Regions from separate parts of the Homo sapiens genome. Here all the other regions are linked to region 1. The links are contacts of gene promoters, found by promoter capture Hi-C in human tissues and cell types (Jung and others, 2019). All regions are on one chromosome and are shown on one strand. The core of a region is centred on a gene start or on the middle of the fragment in contact, and the rest is flanking DNA. Distances in the headings are between cores, read along the strand shown. Region 1 holds the start of ZKSCAN2 (zinc finger with KRAB and SCAN domains 2). Region 2 overlaps NSMCE1 (NSE1 component of SMC5/6 complex). Region 3 has its middle 170 kb from the start of LINC02195. Region 4 has its middle 6.5 kb from the start of LINC02195. Region 5 has its middle 15 kb from the start of LINC02195.

The links. Contacts are between HindIII fragments. The study calls those that stand out against the background at their distance.
Region 2: a fragment that was not itself captured here is called in contact with the fragment with the promoter of ZKSCAN2 in region 1 in 1 of the 25 tissues and cell types used here (mesenchymal stem cells).
Region 3: a contact is called between a fragment that was not itself captured here and the fragment with the promoter of ZKSCAN2 in region 1, in 1 of the 25 tissues and cell types used here (dorsolateral prefrontal cortex).
Region 4: a fragment that was not itself captured here is called in contact with the fragment with the promoter of ZKSCAN2 in region 1 in 1 of the 25 tissues and cell types used here (lymphoblastoid cells).
Region 5: a fragment that was not itself captured here is called in contact with the fragment with the promoter of ZKSCAN2 in region 1 in 1 of the 25 tissues and cell types used here (mesenchymal stem cells).

Annotation. Positions count from the first base shown.
Region 1 is chr16:25,256,581-25,259,103 of GRCh38, forward strand. It overlaps ZKSCAN2 (zinc finger with KRAB and SCAN domains 2), which reads right to left and starts at 1,265. Exons shown (of 7, transcript NM_001012981.5): 1 at 149-1,265. The coding sequence starts at 547. ZKSCAN2-DT (ZKSCAN2 divergent transcript) reads left to right here and starts at 997. Exons shown (of 1, transcript NR_170220.1): 1 at 997-2,523. RefSeq lists enhancers at 631-1,191, 1,607-1,926, 2,047-2,126 and silencers at 877-1,116, 1,197-1,396. The HindIII fragment of the contact is 3,469 bases long and covers 156-2,523 here.
Region 2 is chr16:27,248,934-27,251,456 of GRCh38, forward strand. The region is part of intron 2 of NSMCE1 (NSE1 component of SMC5/6 complex); the gene reads right to left. Among named protein-coding and RNA genes, the nearest start is that of NSMCE1-DT, 18 kb to the right of the region's middle. The HindIII fragment of the contact is 7,888 bases long and covers 1-2,523 here.
Region 3 is chr16:26,759,191-26,761,713 of GRCh38, forward strand. No RefSeq gene overlaps it. Among named protein-coding and RNA genes, the nearest start is that of LINC02195, 170 kb to the left of the region's middle. The HindIII fragment of the contact is 8,690 bases long and covers 1-2,523 here.
Region 4 is chr16:26,600,642-26,603,164 of GRCh38, forward strand. No RefSeq gene overlaps it. Among named protein-coding and RNA genes, the nearest start is that of LINC02195, 6.5 kb to the left of the region's middle. The HindIII fragment of the contact is 4,145 bases long and covers 1-2,523 here.
Region 5 is chr16:26,579,159-26,581,681 of GRCh38, forward strand. No RefSeq gene overlaps it. Among named protein-coding and RNA genes, the nearest start is that of LINC02195, 15 kb to the right of the region's middle. The HindIII fragment of the contact is 3,567 bases long and covers 1-2,523 here.

The sequences.
Region 1 (2,523 bases), core at 15-2,514:
TTAAAGTGAAAAGACCCCCTTATAGGGTCTTTTATTAGTACCATTTATCTTTCTCTGAAGAGCACGTCTTTCTGCAATACATCCCTGCCCACATGCCTTTCCCATTCCCTTTTTTCTAAGTACAAAAATTTGGAAAATCCTCTCTCACCTGCTGTCTTAGTCTTCCAGTCTCTTTCTCCAAATGCACTACCAGGGCCACCGCTTCCTCTCCACTTTGCGGACACTGCTTCTGTGCCCAAGCCTGAATCTTCTCGGGTAAAATGGTGAGAAACTGCTCAATCACCAGCAGCTCAAGTATTTGCTCCTTGGAACGCATTTCTGGCTTCAGCCACCGGCAGCAAAGTTCCCAGAGTTTACTGAAAGCTTCATGGGGTCCAGTCACATCCTCATAACAGAATTGCCTGAAGCATTTGCGGAAGGTCTCAGAGCTATCCGATCCTTCCAGAATGGGCTCTGATGCCCACTCAGGGTCCTTTTCCACCTTCATTATTAGGCATCCCTCAACCTCCAGGGGCGCGTCGATCTGAGAGTCGAGGGCGACAGCCATGCTGCAGCCCAGGGGTCAACTTCACGTCTAGCTCAAGGTGGGGACCCAAAGAAGACTCCAAGCGCTCCCTGCTTAATGTTCCTGGGAGTGTGATAAGGTACGGAGGTAAAAACGGCCAGGTCGGCAGGAACAGGGTATTCCAGGCTGATTAATCAAATCTATGCCAGGCCCTTGAAAAGGTGAACGTATACTCTAAGATGCAAAAGCCTGGCCTCTTCTCCAAACAAGATGTGACCGCGCAATGTGGTTTTCCAGAGTGCATCCCTCTTAGTGCAAAGTCGGAAACCGGGAGGCTGGACGACTGGGAGAAAAATGAAGCAGGCTGAGGAAAGGCTGGGCGGAGGCGGACAGCCGGGCCGGGAGGGGGTGTGTCCGCTACTCCCGGGTCGGGCGCGGAGAGGCGAGTCCCCGAGTGGGTGGGGCCGGATGTGCAGGCCCCGCCCGGCGCCAGGTTCCGGGCTCGGGTCACCGCAGCACGTCCAGGCCGCCGCGGGTGCCGCTGGGGCCGCCGGATTCCGAGAGCGGCGCCGGGCTCTTTCGGGCCCACGACGGCCCCGACCGTCCTGAGGAAACCGCTGCCGCCGAGGAAAGGCCGCAAAAACTGTTCCGCCCGGAAGGGAGAAGAGCTGCGGGGCGAAGCCAGGGCTCGCAGGGGGCAGCGGCAGGCTGCTCGCGTTCGGCCTCGTCCACTCGGCCCGCGGAGAGCGCGGGGGGCGCTGGGAACCGCAGTCACGCATGCGCCGCCTGCCACCGAGCGCCGCGGGGCCCGCGCGAGGCGTCCTGGCGGGCGAGGGGCTGGGGGAGGGGGGGGGGGCCGTGCGGTGGACTCTCGCGAGAGCGCGCGGCGCGGTGACTCGTCGCTGAGGGACTTTAAGATTGTAGAGGGGCGCGGAGGGTCCTCCCCGGGGCGGAGGGACACAGAGGGATTCTAGGGAACCTGCCGTCGCGAGTCCCGCTTCAGGCGGAGAATCTAGGCGGCGGCGGGGCCTCCCTGAGGCGGAGGAGTCGGCACCGGGGCCTGGCTGCCGGGGAAGGAGAGCACGGGAGCGGGGACTCCTGTGTCTGGCGGAGGGACACGGCGTTCCGGTGGAGGGATCTGTTCCTTGTACCTGGTCCAGGGTTGCGGTCGGGGATGGAGCGGTTACCCCGACCCTGCGGGACCTTCTTCCTCTGGCGGAGGTGCACGGCGCGGCGTGGTGTTTTTCTGGCGGAAGTATCTGTGCGTGGCCCCAGGCCCTTCCCGGCGCGGTCTCATCTGGGGCCACTTGTTGGCCCTCGCGTTGGGGAGGTTCATGTGGTGCATCCTGATGAGAAGGGGGGTCACAGGGGTCTCGGGGCCAGGGTTCAGCCAGCCAGGCCCCAGCTTGCTCTCTTCTGGTGCTGCCCCTGTCCCTGAATTCATAGACCCGGCTTTCCCTCTCTTGAGCACCTACTATGTGCCAGGCTGCGCTTTGCGCATGTAGCAGAGGCAACAGTGTCACCTGGGAAGCTGGTTTCCCCCAAAGGAACTCTTGTCTGTCCGTTGTTGCAGAGCCAGCGCATGAGACCAAGTGTGAGTATCAGGCAGTGCAGCCTTCATTCAGTGGCCATGGAATTGGAGAAGTGGGAGGGTAGCTCGCAAATCAAGCTCTCAGCTCTTGGAAACTGAGAAGTTACAGGTAATAGGGAGTGTTGACGAAAAGTAAAACCGTGCAAAATATTTGAAGAGATTTATTGTGAGCCAAATACGAGTAACCACAGCCTGTGATACAGCCCTCTCGAGGCCCTGAGAACATGTGCCCAAGGTGGTCGGGGTGCAGCTTGGTTTTATGTTTTAGGTTGGCATGAGACATCAGTCAAATACATTAAATACATTGGTTTGGTCCAGGAAGGCGGGACAACGCAAAGGGGTGGGGGTGGGGGCTTCCAGGCTATAGGTAAATTTAAATATTTTCTAGTTGACAATTGGTTGAGTTTGTCTGAAGACCTGGGATTGA
Region 2 (2,523 bases), core at 8-2,507, 2.0 Mb after region 1:
CCCTCCCACATCAGCCTCCCAAGTAGCTGAAACTACAGGTGCATGCCACCATGCCTGACTAATTTTTGTATTTTTTTGTAGAGACGGAGTTTTGTCATGTTGCCCAGGCTGGCCTCAAACTCCTGAGCTCAAGCAATCCACCGGCTTCAGCCTCCCAGAGTGCTGGGATTACAGGTGTGAGCCACCACGCCCAGCCGGGTTGAATGTTTTCTTATTTTTGAGCTTTGAGAATTCTCTATATATTCTGAATACAAGTCATTCATTAAATACATTATTTGCAAATATTTTCTCTTAGTATTTTGCTTGTCTTTTCAGTCTCTAAAGAGTATTTTTTAATGTAAATTTTTAATTGTGAAGTTCAATTTATCGATTCATTCTCTTATGGAGCATGCTTTTGGAGCCAAGAAATCTTGGACTAATCATAGGTCACAGAGGTTTTCTCCTATGTTTTCTTCTGGAAGTTTTATAGTTTCAGGTTTTACATTTAGGTCTATGACTCATTTTGAGATAATTTTTGTATTTGGTGCAAAGTATGGCTTGCAGTTCATTTTTTGATTATGGATATCCAATTATTCCAGCACTCATTTTGGAAAAGACTATTTCCACTAAATTACCTTTGCACTTCTGTCAAAAATCAGCTGTCCACCTATGTGTGGGTCTGTTATCTAGCTCTCTTATTTTTTTCCCTTCATCTGTTTGTCCATCATGACATGACTACCACACTGTCTTGATAGGACAGCCATACAGTAAGTCTTGAAATCAGGCAGGGTTCCTCAAGTTTGTCTTTTTCAAAATAGTTTTGGCTCTTCTAGGTCCTTTACATTTCCATGTGAATTTCAGAATCAGCTTGTTAATTTTTATAAAAAGCCTTGCTGGGATCTAACTGGGATTTCTTTGAATCTATAGATCAATTTGGGGAGAATTGATACCTTAACAATACTGAATTTCCCAGCCCATGAACATGCTATGTCTTTCCACTTATTTAAATCTCCTTTGACTTCTCTCAACAATGTTTTGTAGTTTTCAGTGTACGGGTCTAACACATTTTTGCCAGATCTATTCCTAAGCATTTCTTATTTTTAATGTTATTATAAATGGTGCTATTTTTACATTACCATTTCTGATTATCCATTGCCAGCATATAGAGAAACAATTGGTATTTGGATATTGATTTTGTATCCTACAACTTTACTAAACTCACTTATTAGTTCCAGAAGATTTTTTGTAGATTCCATCAGATTTTCTACACAGATGATCATGTTGTCTGTGAACTGACAGTTTTACTGTGTCGTCCTTTCTAATCCAGCTACCTTTTGTTTCTTTTTCTCGCCTCAGTACACTAGCTAGAACAAAAGTGGTGAGAACAGACATTCTTGTCTTTCTCCTGAGATTAGGGAAAAGTATTCAGTCTTTCACCATTAAGAGTGATGTTAGCTGTAGGTTTTACAGAGATCCCCTTTATCAGGTTAAGGAAGTTCCCTTCTTTTCTCACTTTGCTGAGGGTATTGTTTTTGTTTTTGTTTTTTAATCAGGAATAGCTGTTGGATTTTTTTTTTTTTTTAAACTCTGTGTAGAGGGCCAGGCGCGGTGGCTCATGCCTGTAATCCCAGCACTTTGGGAAGCCAAGCCAGGGAGATCACTTGAGGCCAGGAGTTCAAGACCAGCCTGGCCAACACGGTGAAACCCCACCTCTACTAAAAATAACAAAAATTCGTCGGGCGTGGTGGCACGTGCCTGTAATCCCAGCTACTCGGGAGGCGGAGGCAGGAGAACTGCTTAAACCCAGGAGGCGGAGGTTGTAGCGAGCTGAGATGGCACCACTGCACTCCAGCCTGGGAGGCTTTTTTGAGACTCTCTCTCAAAAATAAAATAAAATAATAAAATAAATGAAATTTATTTAATTTTAACTGTTTTTTTTTTTTTTTTGAGATGGAGTTTTGCTCTTGTTGCCCAGGCTGGGGTGCAATGCACGATACCAGCTCACTGCAACCTCTGCCTCCCGGATTCAAGCAATTCTCCTGCCTCGGCCTCCCGAGCAGCTGGGATTACAGGCATGCACCACCGTGCCCAGCTAATTTTGTATTTTTAGTAGAGACGGGGTTTCTCCATGTTGGTCAGGCTAGTCTCGAACTCCCGACCTCAGGTGATCTGCCCACCTCAGCCTCCCAAAGTGCTGGGATTACAGGCGTGAGCTACCGCGCCCAGCCTTAATTTTAATTATTTAAAATATATATATATATATATATATATATATATAAATATATATATATATATAAAACTCTGTAGAGTTCAGACTCCTCACTTGTGTTCTAAGTCTATTTATCCTATTTATCCCCTGCTACTTAGGATCCCTTAGCTTCCTATAAAAAACTTTCTGCTACATCACACCAGGGCAAACATGAGATTTTGTCAAATACTTTTTCTGTACCTATTGAGATAAACACAAGATTTTTCTTTTTTAGCTTAATATGGTGAATTACACTGATTTTCAAATATTAATACTAAATCAACCCTGCAAAATCA
Region 3 (2,523 bases), core at 11-2,510, 1.5 Mb after region 1:
GTTTAATAGACTCACAATTCCACGTGGTTGGGTCGGCCTCACAGTCATGGCAGAAGGCAAGGGAGGAGCAAAGGCACATCTTCCATGGCAGCACGCAAGTGTATGTGCAGGAGAGCTCCCCTTTATAAAACCATCAGATCTCCTGAGACTTATTCACCACCACGAGAACAGGATGGGAAACACCTGCCCCCATGATTCAATTACCTCCCACTGAGTCCCTCCCATGACATGTGGGAATTATAGGAGCTACAATTCAAGGTGAGATTTGGGTGGGGACACGGCCAAACCATAACACCATAAATTTAGGATTTGTGCAAGAACAGCCTTCACTAACTCAAATAAAAAAAAAAAAAACAAGTCAGGCTGGGCTCGGTGGCTCACGCCTGTAATCCCAGCACTTTGGGAGGCCAAGACAGGCAGATCATGAGGTCAGGAGATCAAGGCCATCCTGGCTAACACGCTGAAACCCCGTCTCTACTAAAAAAATACAAAAAAAAATTAGCCGGGCGTGGTGTCGGGTGCTTGTAGTCCCAGCTACTCTGGAGGCTGAGGCAGGAGAATGGCATGAACCAAGATTGTGCCACTGCACTCCAGCCTGGGAGACAGAGTGAGACTCCATAAAAAAAAAAAAAAGAAAAAGAAAATCACTTGAAGCCAGGAGGTGCGGGTTGCATGAGTTGAGATTGTGCCATCGCACTCCAGCCTGGGTGACAGGAGCGAAACTCAAAAAAATAAGAAGAATAAAAAAATCAGACCAAAAAATAGAAAGAGGCCAGGGAAGACTGTTCAGTCTCCCTCTAACCTAGGATGAAGGAGTCCTGACAGCTTATACCTGAAGAAGGAGAACACAATTTCTCCGCACCTTCCACCTCATGCCAATGAGATCAAATCCAATTCAGGGACTGTGCAAAAGGGAGCAAAAATCACAAACAGACTTGTCAAACATGAACTGCTCTCAAAACCCACTATGTATCAGAATCTCCTGATGGAGGTGGATTTAAAAACACGGATTATAACTCAATAATTCTAAACTGTCTCTCTGACATCTGCATTTTTAACATTCTCCCAAGGTAGTTCTTATGCACTCCAAAGTTTGAGAACTAGTAGTGTCTGTCTCTGTTCTTTCCTGCTTCATGCCTCCATGCCAAGGTCTCTCTCACTTCACCTTCCCCTGTGCACATGTAATGGTGCCCTCATTTCAAGCATGGGGGCCAGCTGGTGACTGCATTGGGATTTGGGTTTAGGAGGAAGTAGAAACTCTCACAGTTCTTTAGAAGGTGCTATTTTCTCTATTATCCCAGCTATTCCTGAGACCCTCCCATCAGGTGTGGTCCATTGGGCCCTCTAATAGCAAGGTGATGCCTTGTTTGCTGTTGAGATCACTCAATTGCCTCTCAGCATTCCATGTATAATAACCTCTCAGCATTCCATGTAAGGAAGCAATGTGATTGTGAGTGCAAGAGCGAGACAGCCCTGGACTCTAGCTGAATTCTATCACAGCTCCTATTACTTCCGATAGCACTATCTGGCCCAGGTCACCAGGTAACCAGCACATGGGCTCTGTGAAATACAGATCATGCCCCTCCCGGAATTAGCAAGGGTGTCATTTGCAGGGAACAGCAGATTAGAAGTGGTAATTCTAAACCTGTGCCAAGATCTTTCTCCATCTCTAGTGTGCTAACATTTGGTGTAGTTCAGCAGATGGGAGGGCTAGATTTGGGCACACATCTGTGTCCTAGACAAAGCTGCTTGGAAAGAGAGCCTAGATCCAGATTGAGAGATCTCATTCACTGAATGTGGTATGATAATCTGTATTCCTTTCTAAGGCCGGCTGAGGTTCACTTCAATCTGGCCAGGACTGCTTGGCTGATGGGTTGGAGGCAGAAGTTTGGGGTACGACATGGAATTTCCGGACTCTGGTTCTCCTCTTCCTTATCCTTTTTCTTGCTTTATTCACACCTTAGAAGTCAACATACTAATAAACCCTATTCAGGATGGTGGAGTTGGGTGACCCTACTACCAGAGGGTACATTCAAGGACATAGGGTGGAATACTTTATAAATCAGCTAATAAATAGAAATAAGAGGGTATTATTGTAGAGAGAATATCTTGGTCTACTGGATTGAACCTCAGTGTCCACATCTGTAAAGTAGAACCAATACGACCTAGTACAAAGTGCTTCGGACAAGCCACAGGTGGCACCTTGATATTGTGTGTCTGGTTGTTGTTAAAATTGCAGCAGAGTTCTCTCAAGCCCAAGGACTGAAAACAAATTAAAAGGCAAGTTCTTGGCCGGGCGTGGTGGTTCACGCATGGGATCCCAGCACTTCGGAGGCAGAGGCGGGCAGATCACCTGAGGTTAGGAGTTCGAGACCAGACTGGCCAACTTGATGAAACCCCATCTCTACTAAAAATAGGAAAATTATCTGGGGGTTGTGGTGGGTGCTTGTAATCCCAGCTACTCGGGAGGCTGAGACAGGAGAATCACTTGAACCCGGGAGGCAGAGGTTGCAGTGACCTGAG
Region 4 (2,523 bases), core at 12-2,511, 1.3 Mb after region 1:
GGTGGATGCCCTGAGGTCAGGAGTTCAAGACCAGCCTGGCCAACATGGTGAAACCTCATCTCTACTAAAAACACAAAAATCAGCTGGGTACAGTGGCACACCCCTGTAATCCCAGGTACTCGGGAGCCTGAGGCAGGAGAATTGCTTGAACCTGGGAAGCGGAGAGGTTGCAGTGAGCTGAGACTGCACAATTGCACTCTCCAGCCTGAGCAACAAGAGCAAACTCCATCTCAAAGAAAAAAAAGAAAGAAAGAAAGAAAGAAAGAAAGAAAGAAAGAAAGAAAGAAAGAAAGAAAGAAAGAAAGAAAGAAAGAAAGAAAGAAGGAAAGCAAGCAAGCAAGCAAGCAAGCAAGAAAGAAAGCAAGAAAGAAAGCAAGCAAGAAAGCAAGCAAGCAAGAAAGCAAGAAAGCAAGCAAGCAAGCTATCCAGGTTGTTTTTGCAGCCTAGACCTGTCTTCTACCAAAGCCAATTCGTTTGATGTCTCATCTTACTTTCTCTTGAGAATCTTTCACTCCTACAAACACTTTGGCTTTGACATTTTTTTTTACTCCACTTGGGCACCCTATTAAAGTGAAACTGTCTTACTTGCCTTTTATGTATGATTTTATTTTGTCACCAAAAAAAAACTTTTTACTAAAGCTGATGCATCCATTATAAATTATTTGCTATTATTCTTAAAAGGCACTCTTTAGCTTAATGCATCTCATCATGTTAATGCTTTATAAAACTGACTTGATTTTAAATGGGAACTAGGAAGCCTTGTTGTCAGGAAGTTGCAAAGACTCACACCTCCAACATGTAAACCAAGGGGACAGCACCATCTTCCCCTTGGTGAATTTTGTTCCCAGGCTATTTGAGACACTTGGCAAAGATGTGCCAAGACACTTGGCAAAGATGTGCCTTGTCACTGAATGCCCGGGCTTCCTTGCCATATTCCTGTGAATCAATCTTCCATGACAGGCAGTGGCTTCCTGAAGCCTGCAAAAGTCTTCTAAACAGACAACTTGAATTCATTCCTATCTCTGAGCCTGTGTTTAGATGGGAGCTGATATTGAAGGGTTTGGCAGCATCTAATCTCTGCAATAAATTCTCCTAAGAGCTGAAATCTCTCCTCTTGCAGGGAGTGGTGGCTTCTTGAATGGCCTATCTTGTAGCTGCTGAAAGGAGAATGAGGAAAGACATAGCGGATGAGACATAAGGACCCCTCTCCCAGGTCCAGAGAATCAGAGCTAGAACCTAAATCCATCAGAAGAGATTGCAAGAGAAGCAGTTATGCCCTGGCAACATTTTAACCCAAAAGCAGTTCCATGAGTAGCCCAAAGGGGGTAAGGACACATCTGTTCATATCCACTGGCAGAGATGAGCTCAAGCTTCTGTTGTCCATGGATTGCACGACTGATTTTTAAAAATTCATTCAACAAATGTTTACTGAGCACCTACTAAGTGCCAAGCACTAGAACACCACAATGGGCAAGACGCAGAAGATCTCTGCTCTCATGGAGCTGGGGATCATGTCATCCCCACAAGGAAGAAAGCATGGAGTATGTCTGGACGGTCCTGACTAGGGAAGGAAAAGCAAATTGTGGGACCTTCAGGGAACCTGGAGGTTACTGGAAAGGTCTGCAGACAGACAAAGGAATCACAAGTAATGGTCAAGCTGATAAAAGTCAGGAACTGTTGAAAAAGGTTGAAGGAGCCTGGAAATCACTGGATGGGGTCCAGAGCAAGAGTAATTTTTATTTTTATGTTTTTATTGTTGCTGCTTCTCTTTTAGAGACAGGGTCTGGCTCTGTCACACAGGCTAGGGTGTAGTGGTGCAGTAGGATCATTGCGCACTGCAGCCTCAAACTCCTGGGCTCAAGTGATCCTCCTGCCTCATCTTCTCGAGTAACTGGGACTACAAGTGCATACCATCATGCCCAGCTAATCTTCTTCTTAAGGTTTTTGTACGGACAGGGTCTCACTATGTTGCCCAGGCTAGTCTCAAACTCCTGACCTCAAATGATCCTCCTGCCTCAGCTTCCCAAACTGTTGGGATTAAAGGCATGAGCCACTGAAACCAGCTCCCATTTATATGTTCAGCAAATACTTTCTGAGCATCTTTTCTTTGCAAAGCATTACTGCGCGTTGAGAATACAGCAGGGACCAAGATGGACATGCTCACTGCCCTCACAGAGATTAGTTAAGTGAGGGCCACAGAGAAGAAAACAAGCAATTCTAACATAGGCAGGATCCATGCAGTGACTGAGAAAGCCATAAGGATCTGGGAAAAGGGGAGGGACAGGCTCCTGATGTGGAAGAAGAGGTGGGAGAAGTTAGTGGGTGAAGACAAGCTGAGGTGAGTAAGGTGCAGGGAGCGAGGGGGAAGGGTTTCCCAGCTCAGGCTCACCCTAAGCAGAACAAGCATAACACATCAAATGTCCAGCTCCCAGTTCCATCCAGCTGGACGTAGAACTTATCGTCAACAGATGAAACTAGACAGTCAAGCAGCAGCCCAGATAAGACAGCAGTCAGATAAGACAG
Region 5 (2,523 bases), core at 17-2,516, 1.3 Mb after region 1:
CTTCCTCCCTTCCCTCCCTCCCTCCTTCCTTCCTCCCTCCCTCCCCTTCTTCCTTCCTTCCTTCTTCTTCTCCTCCTTCCTGCCTGCCTCCCTCAGTACTTGCCACCAAGTAGCTGCTATGTGCCAGGTACTTTGCTATACTCTAGGAACAGAGAGAATGACTGGAGGCATTGCCTTTCCTTGAGTTTCTCCCATTCTTAGGTGGAGAAAGACTCTTGAATAGGGTATTGTCTTACAATTCACTAAGCTCTCTAGTTGAAGGATGACCAAGGTGAGGCAACTGAGATGAGAAGGCATACCCTGCTAAGGGGAGTAGCATAGCTGGGAGGGCTTCAGAAAGGAGGTGGCTTTGGATCAGTGCCTGAGAAAAGGGCAAGGAATGCATCAAGGAAGTAATGTAGGGTGGAGATGGGAGTGTGCAGATAGATGGAACCACCTAAGTGAAGAAGCCAAAATATAAATTTGGTGTGGCAGGCATAAAGACAATTGGGCCATAGAGGTAAATAAAGCCACTTTATGAAGGTCCGTGTGACAAGCTAAGGGATCATGTAAGTGCAGGGCTTAGCACAATGTTGAAATAAAGGAGGTACTTCAACTATATTTCCTGTAATAATTGGGATTGTTGGTTTTAATGACAGAAAACTCTCTGTATCAGTCAGGAGCTCAGCAGAAAGTAGATGGAACACTCAATTTGGTTAATATGAATAGAGTTTAATAAAGGATCTACTTACAAAACTGTGAAATAGCTGTAAAAAGCCAGCACAGGGATAGTGCAGCACCCCAGAGAACATAACAATGGGGCACCATTACTACACCAAGTCTGAAGTAGCAAGAGAAAGAGCTGTTACTAGATCCATCCCAAAGAGAGAGAAGGGAAAGAGACAGAGAGAGAGGAATGAGAGTAGAAGTGAGAAGCGGGCTGTCTGTGACCTTTGGTTGAGGTCATCTAGCTTACCCTCAGTGATGCCATGGGAATCAAGGAATAAATGGCCTCACTCTCCTCCCTCCCTCCAGGCTCTGCCAGTGCTCCCTGTTGGCCAATCCTGCTGGAAGCCGAACGCCTTGGGGACTGCTAGTGAAGTCATAGCTCAGCTTCCTGGGTAGTGATTCAGTTGAAGTAGGGAAGTATATAAATCCACAAGGCAAACAGGAGATAGGCAGCCCACCAGCTCAAACTGAATTAAGTCAAAGAGTAATTCATCAGGTTATGGGTGTAGAGCTGCTTCAAGCATTGCTTGTTCCAAGTCATCTTGTAGCCCTGCTTATCTTGGAGCTGGCAGAATTTTCAGACAATATAAGATGGCCCAATACCTAGGACATAATCTATATCCAACCAGCTTAGCAACCCAAATAGACAGAAGTCATATCTTTCCTAGAAATTCCAGGACTAGCTTAGGTCCAAGTTGGGTCCTACTTCCACTGGTGAAATGACTCTCACTTAAATATTCTGAGCCTCAGTTATCTCATCCTTAGAAAGAAACAATACTATCTTCATCTAGTGGTGGAAAGGAAGTAGAGAATCATTGTTAAAATTATGGACTTCAGAACCATACTGCCTATATTCAAATCCCAGATCATCCACCTGCAGGCCAGTGGCCTTGGCTGTGTCTTCATTTTTGTAAACCGTACTTTCTACATCCATAAGGTAGGGATGATAATAGTAGCTACTTCATTAAGTTGTTCAACAGCAGATTAGGTAAGACAAAGCATTAGAACTCTTAATAGAATGTCAGAAATCTAGTAAGAGCTTGATAAATGTTGGTTGATGTTTTTGTTCCTATTATTATTATCCACACATAGATTCCATTCCAGTGAGAAAAACCCTTTTCTTTTGAGTTTTCAGAAGGAGGATCCTTCCAGCTATCCTGCAAGAGACTACCCTATGCTGCATTGAGAATAATACTCAGGTATAAATTTCTTTCTTTCTTTTTTTTTTTTTTGAGACAGAGTCTCACTCTGTCACCCAGGCTGGAGTGCAGTGGCACAATCTCGGCTCACTGCAACCTCTGCCTCCCAGGTTCAAGCGATTCTTCTGCCTCAGCCTCCCGATTAGCTGAGACTATAGGCGCCTGCCACCACACCTGGCTACTTTTTGTATTTTTAGTAGAGACAGAGTTTCGCCATGTTGGCGAGGCTAGTCTCGAACTCCTGACCTCAAGTGATCTGCCCACCTCGGTCTCCCAAAGTGCTGGGATTACAGGCATGAGCCACCGCACCCGGCCTCAGGTGTAAATTTCTAAACTCTAGTTATGGGAGGAAACAATGATGTTGATTTGTTTTGCCTCTCTCATCCCACTGCTACCGTCTTCTGTGAACTTATTTCCTGTTGATTCTAACTCTCCCAAGTCATTGAAAAAAATCTTCTCAGCCATAATGGTTGGTTCCTCTTGCCCTGTGTAAGCTAGTGTTTTAGTCTCTTTTGTGTTGCTATCAAGGAATACCTGAGGCTGGGTAATTTATAAAGGAAAGAGGTTTGTTTTGGCTCATGGTTATGCAGGCTATACAAGAAGCATGGTGCTGGCA